Regions from separate parts of the Homo sapiens genome. Here all the other regions are linked to region 1. The links are contacts of gene promoters, found by promoter capture Hi-C in blood cells and fetal thymus (Javierre and others, 2016). All regions are on one chromosome and are shown on one strand. The core of a region is centred on a gene start or on the middle of the fragment in contact, and the rest is flanking DNA. Distances in the headings are between cores, read along the strand shown. Region 1 holds the start of RNF114 (ring finger protein 114). Region 2 overlaps PTGIS (prostaglandin I2 synthase). Region 3 has its middle 11 kb from the start of PTGIS. Region 4 overlaps B4GALT5 (beta-1,4-galactosyltransferase 5).

What was found. Contacts are between HindIII fragments. The CHiCAGO score rates a contact against its expected background, and 5 or more counts as called.
Region 2: a fragment that was not itself captured here is called in contact with the fragment with the promoter of RNF114 in region 1 in 1 of 17 cell types (M0 macrophages); the score reaches 5.1 in M0 macrophages.
Region 3: a contact is called between a fragment that was not itself captured here and the fragment with the promoter of RNF114 in region 1, in 1 of 17 cell types (monocytes). The highest score is 5.2, in monocytes.
Region 4: a fragment that was not itself captured here is called in contact with the fragment with the promoter of RNF114 in region 1 in 1 of 17 cell types (M2 macrophages); the score reaches 5.1 in M2 macrophages.

Annotation. Positions count from the first base shown.
Region 1 is chr20:49,934,832-49,938,250 of GRCh38, reverse strand. It overlaps RNF114 (ring finger protein 114), which reads right to left and starts at 1,854. Exons shown (of 6, transcript NM_018683.4): 1 at 1,699-1,854. The coding sequence starts at 1,838. RefSeq lists silencers at 485-779, 1,065-1,359, 1,818-2,007, 2,574-2,653 and an enhancer at 1,600-2,205. The HindIII fragment of the contact is 14,536 bases long and covers 168-3,419 here.
Region 2 is chr20:49,525,307-49,528,725 of GRCh38, reverse strand. All of the region lies in intron 5 of PTGIS (prostaglandin I2 synthase), which reads left to right. Among named protein-coding and RNA genes, the nearest start is that of PTGIS, 41 kb to the left of the region's middle. The HindIII fragment of the contact is 1,588 bases long and covers 1,095-2,682 here.
Region 3 is chr20:49,577,160-49,580,578 of GRCh38, reverse strand. No RefSeq gene overlaps it. Among named protein-coding and RNA genes, the nearest start is that of PTGIS, 11 kb to the right of the region's middle. RefSeq lists an enhancer at 1-459. The HindIII fragment of the contact is 4,359 bases long and covers 1-3,419 here.
Region 4 is chr20:49,642,022-49,645,440 of GRCh38, reverse strand. B4GALT5 (beta-1,4-galactosyltransferase 5) reads left to right here. Exons shown (of 9, transcript NM_004776.4): 4 at 1,791-1,915; 5 at 2,857-2,973. Among named protein-coding and RNA genes, the nearest start is that of B4GALT5, 70 kb to the left of the region's middle. The HindIII fragment of the contact is 1,780 bases long and covers 770-2,549 here.

The DNA of each region.
Region 1 (3,419 bases), core at 605-3,104:
CTCAAATTTTGCTGCTCTTCATTTAGCAAACTGTGCTGGGTCTAGCCTTTTTACAAATGTTAATAGTAAATGAAATCCACTGAATTAATCCAAAATCAGGTAAATCTGATCCAAGGATAAGTGGATTCAATGAAAAAGCTAAAGACCACTTCAACTCTCGTGAAGCTTGCTTACACGACTTATTAGTTCATTCAACCATTACCTGATCACTCACCCCACGCACAGAGGTGTGATCCCTGAAATACCCTCCCACTTGCAGAATGAATTTTTACAATAGTTTGACCAGTCATTGGTACTTATTTATAATCAATTCACTGGACTGTAAACTCTGAAGGCAGAGTCTACCCCAAAATCTGGCACACAGAGGCCATTCCAGTCAGTTCAGGGGCAATAAAGATATGGCCACTCCGTCATGAGCTGTTAAGTTTTGCTCTGTGCAAGCAAGGAGAAGGAAGTTAAGTCCCAGAAAGGAAGTGGGGGAAGTAATTTAGATGGGGATGGTATTTGGTGAGGTAACTTAACCTGGGACTTGAAGCCTGAAAAGGGAGGGGTGGGGGGAAGAGTTCCAGGCTAACCGAATTGCAAAGATGAATAGCCTAAAGCAACATGATGAAGCAAAAAGCAGCCAGCTAGGTGCCAAGCACTGTTCTCTGGACTACTGAAATGGTCACCTGCAGTACATCTGGGAAGAGCTAGGCCACGGTGACCCTTCCCTAAGAGAGCCTCGGACCCTCAGTGTATTCACCTGTAAAATGGCTGCCAACCCTCCCCCGCTGCAGGGTGGCTATAGAATAATGCCCATGGAGTGCAATGGCTACTGTGCCCGCTGCCAAGACCAATGCCAAGGTGATCCCACGATAAGCACTGAGAGGGGCCAGAGGAAAAGCCAATTCTGAGGCAAGAAGCAGGTGGCCACGTTGTCTACAATTCTTTCAACTCAGATGTGTTTGTGCGTCTGATGGAACAAGGCTTAGATTCAAATCGACCAACCTGACCAACCTCGAAAGCCCCGGCCACAGCCCAGGACCTGGACTGGACATTTATACACATATCTGCTTTAATCATTATAACCACTCTATTCACAATATTCAGGTCATGAAGGCTTAATTGAAAACTGAAAGAAACAAACCTCCTACACAGGAAGTAGAATGCTAACAATCCCATCTGCCAACTCCCACCCCCCTTTCACAGCTAAGGGCAAACTGGCCAGATCCCCATAAAGACTTCCCTTTTGTTGTTTTAGTCTAGTTCAGCGTTTCTCCCGACTTTAGTGCACAGTAGAATAACTCGCCACAGCTAGACACGACGCCAAATGTCCTATGCTTTAAGAGCGACGTGGACTAGAAAGGAAACGTCGGCTCTCCAAGGGCGGACTTCGGAGCCTAAAGTCCCCGCAGGGCACGAGTCCACTATCACGTGTGGGAAGGAGACTGACAGGCCGCCTGGAACATCGCAGGCGCTCAACAGACAGCAGCTGCCCCGCTAAGACGGGCGGAGGAACGGGATACTTAGGAGTGAGCGGGGCGGGACAGAAGAGCGCCCCGGCAGCTTTCACGGCCCTTAGGAGCCCCGGGGGACACCCCCGGGAGGCCCCTCTGGGTGGGTCCTCTGGCTCCCGCCCTGAGACCCATCTCGCTCCTCGGCTCCATTCCCTTCCCAGTTAAGCGCCCCCCGACCAGGCCCGGGCTCGCCGCTTACACGTGTCCGCAGGGCACCTGTACCGGCTTCTCGTACACCTCTAAGCACACGGGACACGTGAAGCGTCCTAGGGGGTCAGCCTCCGCCGCCGGCCCCGCCAGCTGCGCAGCACCCCCGCAGTCCCGCTGTTGCGCCGCCATCTTGCTGCCGCTCTGCGCCGCGCAACGGCGGCCGATGAGGAGGAGGCCGAGGGGGCGGGGCTCGCGGGGCGGTGAGCGGTTGGGGGCGGGGCTAGCGGGTGGGCCGCCCCTCGGGGCCCCTCTGACGCAAGCGAGCTAGAGGCCGAGGGAAATCTGGAAAACGTGGAAGCCAAATCCAAAGGCTGCCAGAATTGGGACGGGCTCTGCGCGTGGGCCGCTGTTTTCCAAATTTATCGTTAGTTCGGCACCACTTGCACTATCACTATTTATCTTCGAATCAAGTTGCTTTTTCCTTAAATTTATTTATTTATTTATTTAATCTATTTTGGGACAAGGTCTTGCTTTGTCGCCCAGGCTGGTGTTCAGTGGCGCGCGCGATCATGGCTCCCTGCAGCCTCGACCACCGGGGTTCAAGCGATCCTCCCACCTCAGCCTCCTGCGTAGCTGGACCACAGGCAGTCACCACCATGCCGGACTAATTTATTTATTTTTGTATTTTTTGTAGAGACGGGGAAAGGAGGGGGGGAAGGAGTGGTGCAGAGAGCGGGCGGGTCTCACTGTGTTGCCGAGGCTGGCCTCGAACTCTTGGACGCAAGCAATCCGCCTGCCTCGGCAACCCGAAGTGCTGGGATTACAGCGGTGAGCCACAGTACCCAGCCATTTCTTAAATTTAAGCAAATTCTAATAACAGATCTAATTCCTGAGCTGCAAGAAGAAAATCAATATCATTTATTTATACAAAGGAGCTGGGCAAGGTGGCTTACTTCTGTAATCTCAGCACTTTGGGAGGCCGAGGTGGGCGGATCGCTTGAGCCTAGGAGTACTAGAGCAGCCTGGCCAACATGGTGAAACCCCGTCTCTACTAACAATACTAAAATTAGCCAGGCGTGGTTGCCCATGCCTGTAGCCTCAGCTACTCAGGACGCTGAGGCAGGAAAAGCCTTTGACCTGGGAGGCGAAGGTTGCCGTGGGCCAAGATGGCTCACTCACTCCAACAGTCACTAAACTCCAGCCTGGGCAACAAGAACGAAACTCCGTCTGAAAAAAAAAAAAAAAAACAAAAACACAACCTGGCTAACACGGTGAAACCCTGTCTCTACTAAAAATACAAAAAATTAGCCGGGCGTGGTGGCGGGCGCCTGTAGTCCCAGCTACTCGGGAGGCTGAGGCAGGAGAATGGCTTGAACCTGGGAGGCGGAGCTTGCAGTGAGCCAAGATCTTGCCACTGCACTCCAGTCTGGGCGACAGCGCGAGACTCCCTCTCAAAAAACAACAACAACAACAACAAAACAAAACAAAAAAACCCCAACAACAAAGTACATTCATTTCATATTGTGCAATCATCACCATCAGCTATCTCTAAAATTCTGGTCTTCTTGCTAAACTGAAACTGAAATTCTGTCCCCATTAAACAATAACTTCCTCTTCCCTCCTCCCATCCCCATACCCCCAGGCCCTGGCAATTTTCTGTCTATGATTTTGAAGCACTTATAGCTATAAAATTTCCCCTGAGCACTGCTTTCACTGTGTCCAGTAAATTTTGGCATGCTGTGTTTTTGTTTTCATTTGTTTCTCAATATT
Region 2 (3,419 bases), core at 639-3,138, 410 kb after region 1:
TAAGGTTTAGTGTGTCCTCTACACTGCTCTAAGGGATATACAAATGTAAACTGATTTGATCCATGATCCAATCACTGCTATATATATATTTTTTTTGTTTTTGAGACAGAGTCTTGCTTGCTCTGTTGTCCAGCCTGGAGTGCAGTGGTGCAATCTCCGCTCACTGCAACCTCTGCCTCCTGGGTTCAAGCGATTCTCCTGCCCCAGCCTCCTGAGTAGCTGGGACTACAGGCGCCCACCACCATGCTTGGCTAATTTTTGTATTTTTATATTTTTGTTAGAGATGGGGTTTCACCATGTTGGCCAGGCTGGTCTCGAACTCCTGACCTCAGGTGATCTGCCCGTCTCGGCCTCCCCAAGTGCTGGGATTACAGGAGTGAGCCACTGCACCCAGCCCACTGCTATATTTTTATCCTGTGTTTTTTGCCAGGCAGGACAGAGCAGGATGGCACAAGATTTCAACACACTACTCAGAACAGCATGTAATTTAAAACTTATGACTGTTTATGTCCGGAATTTTTCATTTAATATTTTTGGACCATGGTTGACCATGGGTAACTGAAACCTTGGAATTCAAATTCTTTTGTATTTTGAGTATCACTCTGTCACCCAGGCTGGAGTGCAGTGGCTCCATCTCAGCTCACTGCAACCTCCACCTCCCGGGTTCAAGTGATTCTGCTGCCTCAGCCTCCCAAGTAACTGGGATTACAGGTGCCTGCCACCACCCCCAGCTTATCCTTTTTTGTATTTTTAGTAGAGACGGGGTTTCACCATGTTGGTCAGGCTGGCTTCAAACTCCTGAACTCAAGTGATCTGCCCACCTTGGCCTCCCAAAGTGTTGGGATTACATGCGTGAGCCACTGCACCCGCCCAGAATGCAAATTCTTTGTTATACAACACTATCTTTGACTCATTTTTGCCAAATGACCTTCATATGCCTTTTAAAAAAATTGTGGTAAAATAATAAATAACATAAAATATACTATTTTAACCATTTTAATTGTATAATTCAGTGGCAGTAAATACATTCACAATGTTGTATAACCATGCCGTTATCTATTTCCAGAAACTTTTCATGATTCTAAACAAAAGCTTTGTGCCCATTAAACAATAATTCCCCACCTGCCTTTCCTCCCAGCCCGACATATCTTCTATTCTACTTTCTGTCTCTTCTATTCTACTTTCTATTCTACTTTCTGTCGAATAGTATACTTCTATTGTACTTTCTGTCTCTGAATTTCCTGTTCTAGGATTCTCATTATATGAGATTTTGGAGACAGAGTCTCTGTCGCCCAGGCTGGAGTGCAGTGTCGCCATCTCAGCTCACTACAATCTCCGCCTCCCGGGTTCAAGCTATTCTTGTGCCTCAGCCTCCTGAGTAGCTGGGATTACAGGTACACACCACCATGCCTGGCTAATTTTTTTTTTTTTTTTTTGTATTTTAGTAGAGACAGGGTTTCACCATGTTGCCCATGCTGGTTCTCTAACTCCTGAGCCCAGGAAATCTGCCCACCTTGGCCTCCCAAGGTGCTAGGATTGCAGGCGTGAGCCACCATGCCTGGCATATGCGTCAGAATTTCATTCCTTTTTAAGAGTGAATACATTGTGTGTATATACTGCATTCTATTTATCCATTCACCTATCAACCGACATTTGGGTTGTTTCTGCCTTTTGGCTACTGTGAATAATGCTGCTATGAACATTGGTGCACGAGTATCTGTTTGAGTCTCTGGTTTCAGTTCTTTGGGCTATATACCTAGAACTAGAATTACTGGATCATATGGTAATTCTTTAACTTTCTGAGGAACTGCTAAACTCTTTTTCACAGCAACTGCAGTATTTTACATTCCCACCAGCAATGCATAAGGGTTCCAATTTCTCCACGTCCTCACCATCACTTATTTCCTATGTTTTAAATAGTAGCCATCCTCATGGTTGTGAATGGTATCACACTGTGGTTTTTACATGCATTTTCTAATGACTAATGGTGTTGAGCATTGTTTCATGTGTTTATCAGCCATTTGTATCTCTTCTTTGGAGAAATATCTATTCAAGTCCTTTGCCAATTTTCAAATCAGGTTGTTTGTTTTTTATTGTTGTTGAGTCGTAGGAGTTCTTTTATATATTTTGGGTGTTAGACCCTTATCAGATATATTATTTACAAATATTTTCTCACTTTCTGTCAGCTGTCTTTTCATACTGCATTACCTTTTTTGCTTAATTATTCATTGATTGTGCAAATATAGAGTGCCTCCTATGTACTCAGAACTGCTGTAGGCACAGGGGAAAAGTGGAGAATGGTCCTGCCTTGCTTTTTAAAGTCATCTGTAAACGCCGTGTTTACAGTGATATTCAAGATTGCAGTTGTGTGGTCAGACTTCAAAGAATGCCAGTTATTTCTAAAGCTGTGTTAAATTTCTTTGCCTCTTTTTTTAGCCATCCCATCAGATGATGCTTAGAAGTATCCAGAGTTGGCATCAACTGAGGTGGTTTCAACACTGCCCGCGCCCTGCAGGCCTAAACCTCTGGATGCCCAGTTCCCACGCACGTGATTTTGACATGATCAATCTGGGGTTGGCACCTGGGCATCCAGAGATTTAAGAGCTCCCAGGTAATTCTTCAGAGAGCCTGAAAAGTGGAGAAACATAGGAAGATAATGTATTTCAGTTGAACACTTAAGCTTATTGCTTTACATTGAAATGTCACCCGAAATGGTGACATTCATTTCAATGTAAAACAATGAGCTCAAGTTGAAGTCTAAAAGTTAAACATATTCAGCGTATTATTTGAAAATGAAGCCAACATACTTTAAAAAAAAAACATAGTCTACATTTTCGACCCTTTCAAATGCCCTGTGAGGTGCAGCCAGGTTTAGAATCGCTGGTGGGGCGAGTCTTCCTGAAACACGGCTTGTGGTTCAGAAGAGTCAGTGAGGGAGTTTCCAATACTTTGAAACTTCAGAGCAATCCAAAATGACTCTCACTTTTCCAAGGGGTGATTTCGGAGAAAACCAAATTTTATATTTTATATTTTTGTTTTAAACTTTATATTTGTGCATATAAATAGCATTACCGTGGAGCTTTAAAACAATGTATATTAAGGCTCATGTATGGTTCATGAAAATATTTTAAAAAAAAAAAAAGAAGTAGAAAAGAAAACAATATCTAAATAGTGTCATTCTTCAGTGCCCGGCTTTATCCCCTTACCAGTCTGCCCTTGGGAACTCTCTGTGTCTGTAGGTAAAATGTACTAACTCACTTTCACTGCTGTATGTTTCCAGAACATAAACACACCATTGTCTGTTTAATGGTGATGCACGCTAGTGATCTGTGGGCCAAAGTTGACCTTCAGAGATGCTTCTGTGGTCTGCACAGTGATTAAAAACTTTTTACTTGGATGCTAACCTTAAAAAACATCAG
Region 3 (3,419 bases), core at 337-2,836, 360 kb after region 1:
AATAAGCCTTTCCCCCACTAGCTTCTCTTAAAAACCATAGGGCTAGAGCTGAGCAGTGAGGTTGGATTTGAAGGGGGAGTCTGTCCACTGTAGGGGGAGGGTGGGGAGGAGGCTTCGACCCCTGAATACAGCTCAGTCTGAGGCAGTTTCCTGCGCCCTGGGGAGACCCCATCTGGGTCCTGGGTTTCCCAGGAGGCGGCCATTCACTCCAACAGGGAGAACAATGCCCTCCTGTTCCCCTGCCAGCCTGGAGTCCTGGGAGTGAAGAGAGGCAGCCTGGGCCTCTGACTGGAGCCCAGACTCCACCATTCCCGGTTCTGTGGCCTTGCCTTCTGTCTGGGCTTCCCATTCCTCATCTGTAAAATGCGCACACAGCCGTCCCTGCCCAGCTTTCAGCCCTCCCACCCCACTTTCTGACCCGCCTTTGGGGGATCATCCTTCCCACCTTGTTTGGTTGACCATCAAGGTCTGTGGGCAGGCACATGACCCAAACATGGCCAATCAGACTTTCTCGTGGGAGAATCAGAAACTGAAGCGGAAGGAATGCTGAGATTGGAAACAGCTGGAGCCCCGAAGACCTGGCCACTGGTTCCTGCTCCCCACACCCCTGGCTCCTGCTCCCCGCGTTCCCGGAGCTGCTTGTTCCTGTCCTTTCCAAGTCCCAGCTGGTCAACTTTTCCTTCCAATACCTCGTCCCCACCTTTTCTTTTTCTTAAATTAGCCAGGGTTGGTTTCTGAGGCTTGAACAAACCCAAGTACTCTGCCTGATGCCAGCATGACAATTTCTGCTTCTAAAGCTGGTATGAGGGTCAAATGCTATGCACTAGAGTATAAACTGTGAAGTGCCATCCACATATGAGGAATTGTCCAGGCACTGGCACATCGCAGTTATGAACTTGGGCCTCAGAATCAGAATTTGATTCCCAGCTCCACCCCTTTCTTGCTGTGTGACCTTGGGCTGCTTGCTTCCCCTCTTTGAGCTTCAGTTTCCTCACCTGGAAAGTGGAGATGATACTGGTATTAAGACCAGCTATATACTTTGTGGGTACCAGAGTAAAGTAAAATCATGGGGACCCTTGTTCAAAAATAATTAAGAATTTCAAGCTGGTGACAGGAGAGCGCTAAGCCGAGCATGAGACCATTCTGGGTGCAGGGGCCTATGTGAGCACCCAGGTTGCATGTCCATGAAGCTGGCCCTGACTGCATAGAGCTTGCTGCGAATGGGGCATCTTATCCAGGCTGGGCAAGGAGTGCAAAGCTGTGTCACTCTAATTCATATCTGGTTGCCTCCCAGAAAGCCCTGGAGAAGGTTTACGAAATGAGAATGTAATAAGGTTTCATCCATTAAGCACCAGGTATGAAACAAGTACTTCACATACTACCTTATTCAGCTTCAGAATGGAGAACTTTCTTCTATTGCAAGTGAAAGAAACTCAACCCAAATTGGCTGAAACAAGCAAACAAAAATAATTTAATGGTTCATGTGGTCAGGAGCATTCTGGCTTCAGGCATGGCTGAATCCGGGGGTTCAAATGATATCTCAAGAAACTGTATTTCCCTATCTCTTGGTTCTGCTGCCCTGTAAGTCGGTTTCATTCTCAGACATGCTATCTCCAGGCAGAGGCAAAAGTGGTCCCCCAGTATCCTGCCAGGTCAGAAATCACAGGCAGAAGGTCCTTCTGATCACCAAATAAATGGTTAGGGAGACAGAGAACTCTCTCCAGCGTGTCTGGTATTAGTGGAGGGAGGTTGGGAGGCTGTGAAAATAATGCTAATAGCCCACATTTATCCAAGGCTTTCCATACTTCCAGAGATTAACTCTTTTCATCCTCACAACCAACTCCATTTGACACCTGGGGAAACAAAGGCACAGATAAGCAATATGCCTGAGGCCTTTTAAGTGGGGGGGCGGGTGCCAGGCTTTGAGTTCACATAGTCTGGCCGTGGAGCCCAGGCTCTCTCACTCTAGCCCTCTGCGGACATGCAGGACATGTAGACATTTGGGCTATGTGATTGCCTGTGCATCAGAGTTTGGAGCTGTGAACCATGAGCGTGGCTGAACATCCACCAAAGATTTCTATTTTTTTTTTTTTAAAGCAGTGAAATGTTTGTGTGTTTGAGATGAGATTTTTTTTTAGACAGCATCTCACTCTGTTGCCCAGGCTGGAGTTCAGTGGCGCGATCTTAGCTCACAACCTCCGCCTCCCAGTTCAAGCGATTCTCCTGCCTCAGCCTCCCAAGTAGCTGGGATTACAGGTGCCTGCCACAATGCTCAGCTAATTTTTGTACTTTTAGTAGAGATGGGGTTTCACCATGTAGGCCAGGCTGGTCTTGAACTCCTGACCTCAGGTGATCCACCTGCCTCGGCCTCTGAAAGTGCTGGGATTACAGGCGTGAGCCACCGTGTCTGGCCAAGATGAGATCTAACATGATCTAACATGGAACAGACACAGGAGCTGATGCCTGGTGAAGTGGGGCTGGGGGATTATTGCCCTCTGGGGAGGTGCTGGGGTGGGAGGGAGAGGAATGGAGGTCACACAGGCTTGTTGCATTGCGATCTGAGACTATTGTACTTTTATTCTGCTTTTAAAAAAATTATTGCCATGTTCTTTGTGGCTTACTAGGTAGCCAGTGTTTGTGGTTCACTATGTTATTTTGACTTTCTATTTCCTTTTTTTTTTCCCTTGGTATTTCAAGAGCTGAGAGAAGTGACTTAAAATGTCCTTGCTCTGTAACTATCTGTTGCTGTGTTATCTGGTGCATGGATGCTCACACCTTTATTTATTTTTATTTATTTATTTATTTTTTGAGACAGAGTTTTGCTCTGTCGCCCAGGCTAGAGTGCAGTGGCTCAATCTCAGGTCACTGCAACTTCTGTCTCTGGGGTTCAAGTGATTCTCGTGCCTCAGCCTCCCGAGTAGCTGGGATTACAGGTGTGTGCCACCATGCCCGGCTAATTTTTGTACTTTTAATAGAGATGGGGTTTTGCTATGTTGGCCAGGGTGGTCTTGAACTCCTGACTTCAAGTGATCTGCCTGCCTTGGCCTCCCAAAGTGCTGGGATTACAGGCATGAGCCACAGCACCCAGCCAATTTTCTTTCTAGTCTTTCTAATGTTTTCTTTATTTCTGTCTCATTTTTTTCCTCTTTTTCCATTTCTGTTAACCGTGTCCTTGCTGTATTTTCTGCAGGGCCTATTTCCTTCCCCTCCAATTTTGTCTTCATTTCTGATATTTTTTTTTCTTTCTACTTCTTTCCTGAGTGCTAACCCTTCATGTTCATTACCTCCTTTTGCCTGCCTTCTTTTTGAGTTCTTCAGTTTCCTTATTGTCCTCCTTCACAGAGGTAGTTGCTCCATTCAGTTCTCCTAAGATGTTTCTTTCTTTCTTTCTTTAAATTTGAGACGGAGTTTCACTAGTT
Region 4 (3,419 bases), core at 410-2,909, 290 kb after region 1:
AATGCAGTAGATTTGTTTATACCAGCATCACCAGAAACACTTGAGTAACACAACAATGCTATGGCAGCTATGTCATCACTAGGCAGTAGGAATTTTTCAACTCCATTGTGATCTTATGCAACCACCGTATATGCCATCCGTCACTGGTGAAAATGTCAAAGCACATCACTGTATAGGCAGTCAGCTTTGTCTTTTTAGTATAAACCTCTCACTGATTGTAGTGCTTGATCTTAGAGGTGGGGGTCTCACTATGTTGCCCAGGCTGGTCTCCAACTTCAGGGAGCAATCGTCCTGCCTCAGCCTCCTGAGAAGCTGGGACTACAGGCATGAGCCACCATGCCTTGCTTGGAAGTTATTTTCTTAACAAAGTGCTAGTTAAAACAATTCTTAGATCTTTTTGTTCTTTTTTTTGAATCTCGTGTAAGCTAAAACAAGGACAGTAAACTCTTATACCTTTCCTATACTTTTAGGCTTCTTAATATGGTTCCCCACTTCTTTTTTTAAAATTGTTTTTTTTTAAGAAGTGAGATCAAGAAAAGGAAAATCTTACATTTGCAAAGTTGACTTTTATGCACAAATATAGTGAAAATAGGGAAAATGTTAGAAATAGTCGTGCATGGTATTTGAACATATTCTCATCCATATATGAATAATTAATTATAAGTATGTAAGTTGTGTTGGAAGCCTTACTGTTTCATTTGCATGTCTCACCACACATATATAGGTTTTCCCTTTAAAACCTGCATTTGTCTGCATCTAGATGTAAGCTTAGTTTGGGAAGGCTGAGATTTGTGTATCAGAAATAGGCGTTGACAGGCCTAAAACTAATGTTATTAGTTCATTGTTTCAGTAGCATTTATTGATTGTTACTGTACCACTTCCTGACTTAAGTCAGAGATGACCAGCATTCTGAGTTAGGACATAATCACTCAGGGTCCTGACCCACTGGTGAATGGATTGAGAGAGGTAGTGTGGCTGCACTTGCATCAGGAGCAAACCTGACATGACTCTAAGCTCAGCTGCTTTTCTCCTTCTTCTCAGAAAAGCTCAGCTGCAGCCAGGTGCAGGGGCTCATAGCTATAATCCCAGCACTTTGGGAGGCCAAGGTGGGAGAATCACTGGAGCTCAGGAGTTCAAGACCAACCTGGGCAACATAGTGAGACCCTGTCTCTATTTATTAAAACATATTAATAAACAAAACAAAAAAAAAAGAAGGCTGGGCACAGTGGCCCACGACTGTAATCCTAACATTTTGGGTGGCCCAGGTGGGTGGATCCCTTGAGGTCAGGAGTTCGAGACCAGCCTGGCCAACAAGGTGAAACCTCATCTCTACTAAAAATACAAAATTAGCTGGGTGTGGTGGCATATGCCTGTAACCGCAGCTACTCAGGAGGCTGAGGCAGGAGAATTGCTTGAACCCAGAGGCAGAGGTTGCAGTGAGCTGAGATCACACCACTGCACTCCAGCCCGGGCAACAGAGCGAGACTGTCTCAAAAAAAAAAAAAAAAAAAAAAAAAAGCTCAGCTACTGTTTTACTTAAAGTTTTCATTTCTACCTGGCCCCTGACAGAAGCAGAACTCTAAAGTCTTAATTCCTTGATTTGCCTCTTCACCTTGAAAATAGTGAGGAACTGAAATACGGTGAGATGGAAAGCAGAGGAAGGGACTTCCATCCTTGCTAAAAACAAATTCAGCTGAAAAAGCATTGCGCTCTCCAGAGACTAAAACCCCAGGCATAGGGAAACCTATCATTTTCTGACCTCTTAATCCCTTTTCCCCGTCTCTGTTCAGAGGGCCCAATAGACATAAACATGAGTGAAATTGGAATGGATTACATTCATGAACTCTTCTCCAAAGACCCAACCATCAAGCTCGGAGGTCACTGGAAGCCTTCTGATTGCATGCCTCGGTGGAAGGTAGGGTGTGAAGTCACAGCCAAAATGCTGAGAAGCCCACCTGGGGTTTGCCTTTGGTCCGAATCACCATGGGATTAGCTAACCATGACATTTTGTCATTTTCATCCTACCATTCCATGCAAATGTAGAAACATTTTAGAGGAATGGGTTTCCACAAGGACTCTTTTTGTAGATACAGAAATTTGCATTATTCTGATGACCGAGCAAGACCCTTTGGTCTTCCCACCAGGAATATTAACAAAGCAAGGGGATGAGGGCGTTGGTGGTCTCTAATGACCCATTTGCAGAAGTCATCTACAGAGTCAGTGCTTCATTCCTGTTCTCCATTGGTTACTACAAGATTAGTGGATTAAAAAGCAAAGTTACCTGGCTTGACATTGAGATTTAGTTTTTTTCTGCCTGACCATAGTCAGAAGACATCAGTAGTTTTCGTTAAGCTGTGACCCCAGCTGAAGTCCATTCTTTCAACAAGTATCTATTAAAATGCGTATTCTGTGCCAGCCTCGTTAAGTGCTGCTGATGCAGCAGATCTGGAACACATCAGTATCCAGCCCATCGCTGGGAAATAAAAACAGTTGAATAACCAGCATTTGTACATTGCACATTGTAAGGGGAAATACTGTTTTGTGAAGCTTGTTTTAATTGTAAGTTTATAGATGTATTTTTGTCACAGTGTAGAATGTGTGTTTTCCTATGAGTTATGGCCTAGAATAAATTATAGGCCTACTATGTACTATAAGATATGGTATATGTAAGAATCACATTCATCTAGGTCCAAGGGCCAACTTGCCAACATAGATCTTTGTTTAGAGAAAGCTGAGGACAAGATAGCCAGCCTCCCAGAACTCCCATGGGTTGGTCAGCAATTCATCAGGGGTGTCCTGCTAAGGAGTGAAAGCTGAGAGTCCTAACTGTGCTTCTTTTGCTGTAATCCACTCCAGGTGGCGATCCTTATCCCCTTCCGGAACCGCCACGAGCACCTCCCAGTCCTGTTCAGACACCTGCTTCCCATGCTCCAGCGCCAGCGCTTGCAGTTTGCATTTTATGTGGTTGAACAAGTGAGTAGTCCTTTCTTTTCCTTTCTTTTTTCTCTTCTGAGACAGCAGTTTAGGTTGCTGCAAGCTAATCCACTGTTGGTGTGAAGAGCCAATAAAACTGAAATCTTAGGATCGAGTTGCCTGAGGTTTGAAGGGGGAGCAGAGAGCAATTCTGTGCTCCTGGTTTGAGATGTCTGTTGCCCAGTACTGGGCACACTTGAATCCAGGAGAGAGCTTTGTTGGCTCATGAACAAAGGCCTCTTGTATTATGGTTTTGTTGGTGCCTGCAGGCTCCAGACCCAGGAAGTTCCCCTTAAGATAAAGAGCTGCAGCAAGGTACAGCACAGAGGATGTGGCCTTGGAGTCAAGAGACCTCAGTGCTTGTCATGTCTGCTGTTAATCAACCAAGTGGCCTGGGACATTTGCAAACTTCTCTAAGCCTGAGGGTTTGGTTTTGTTTTAATCTT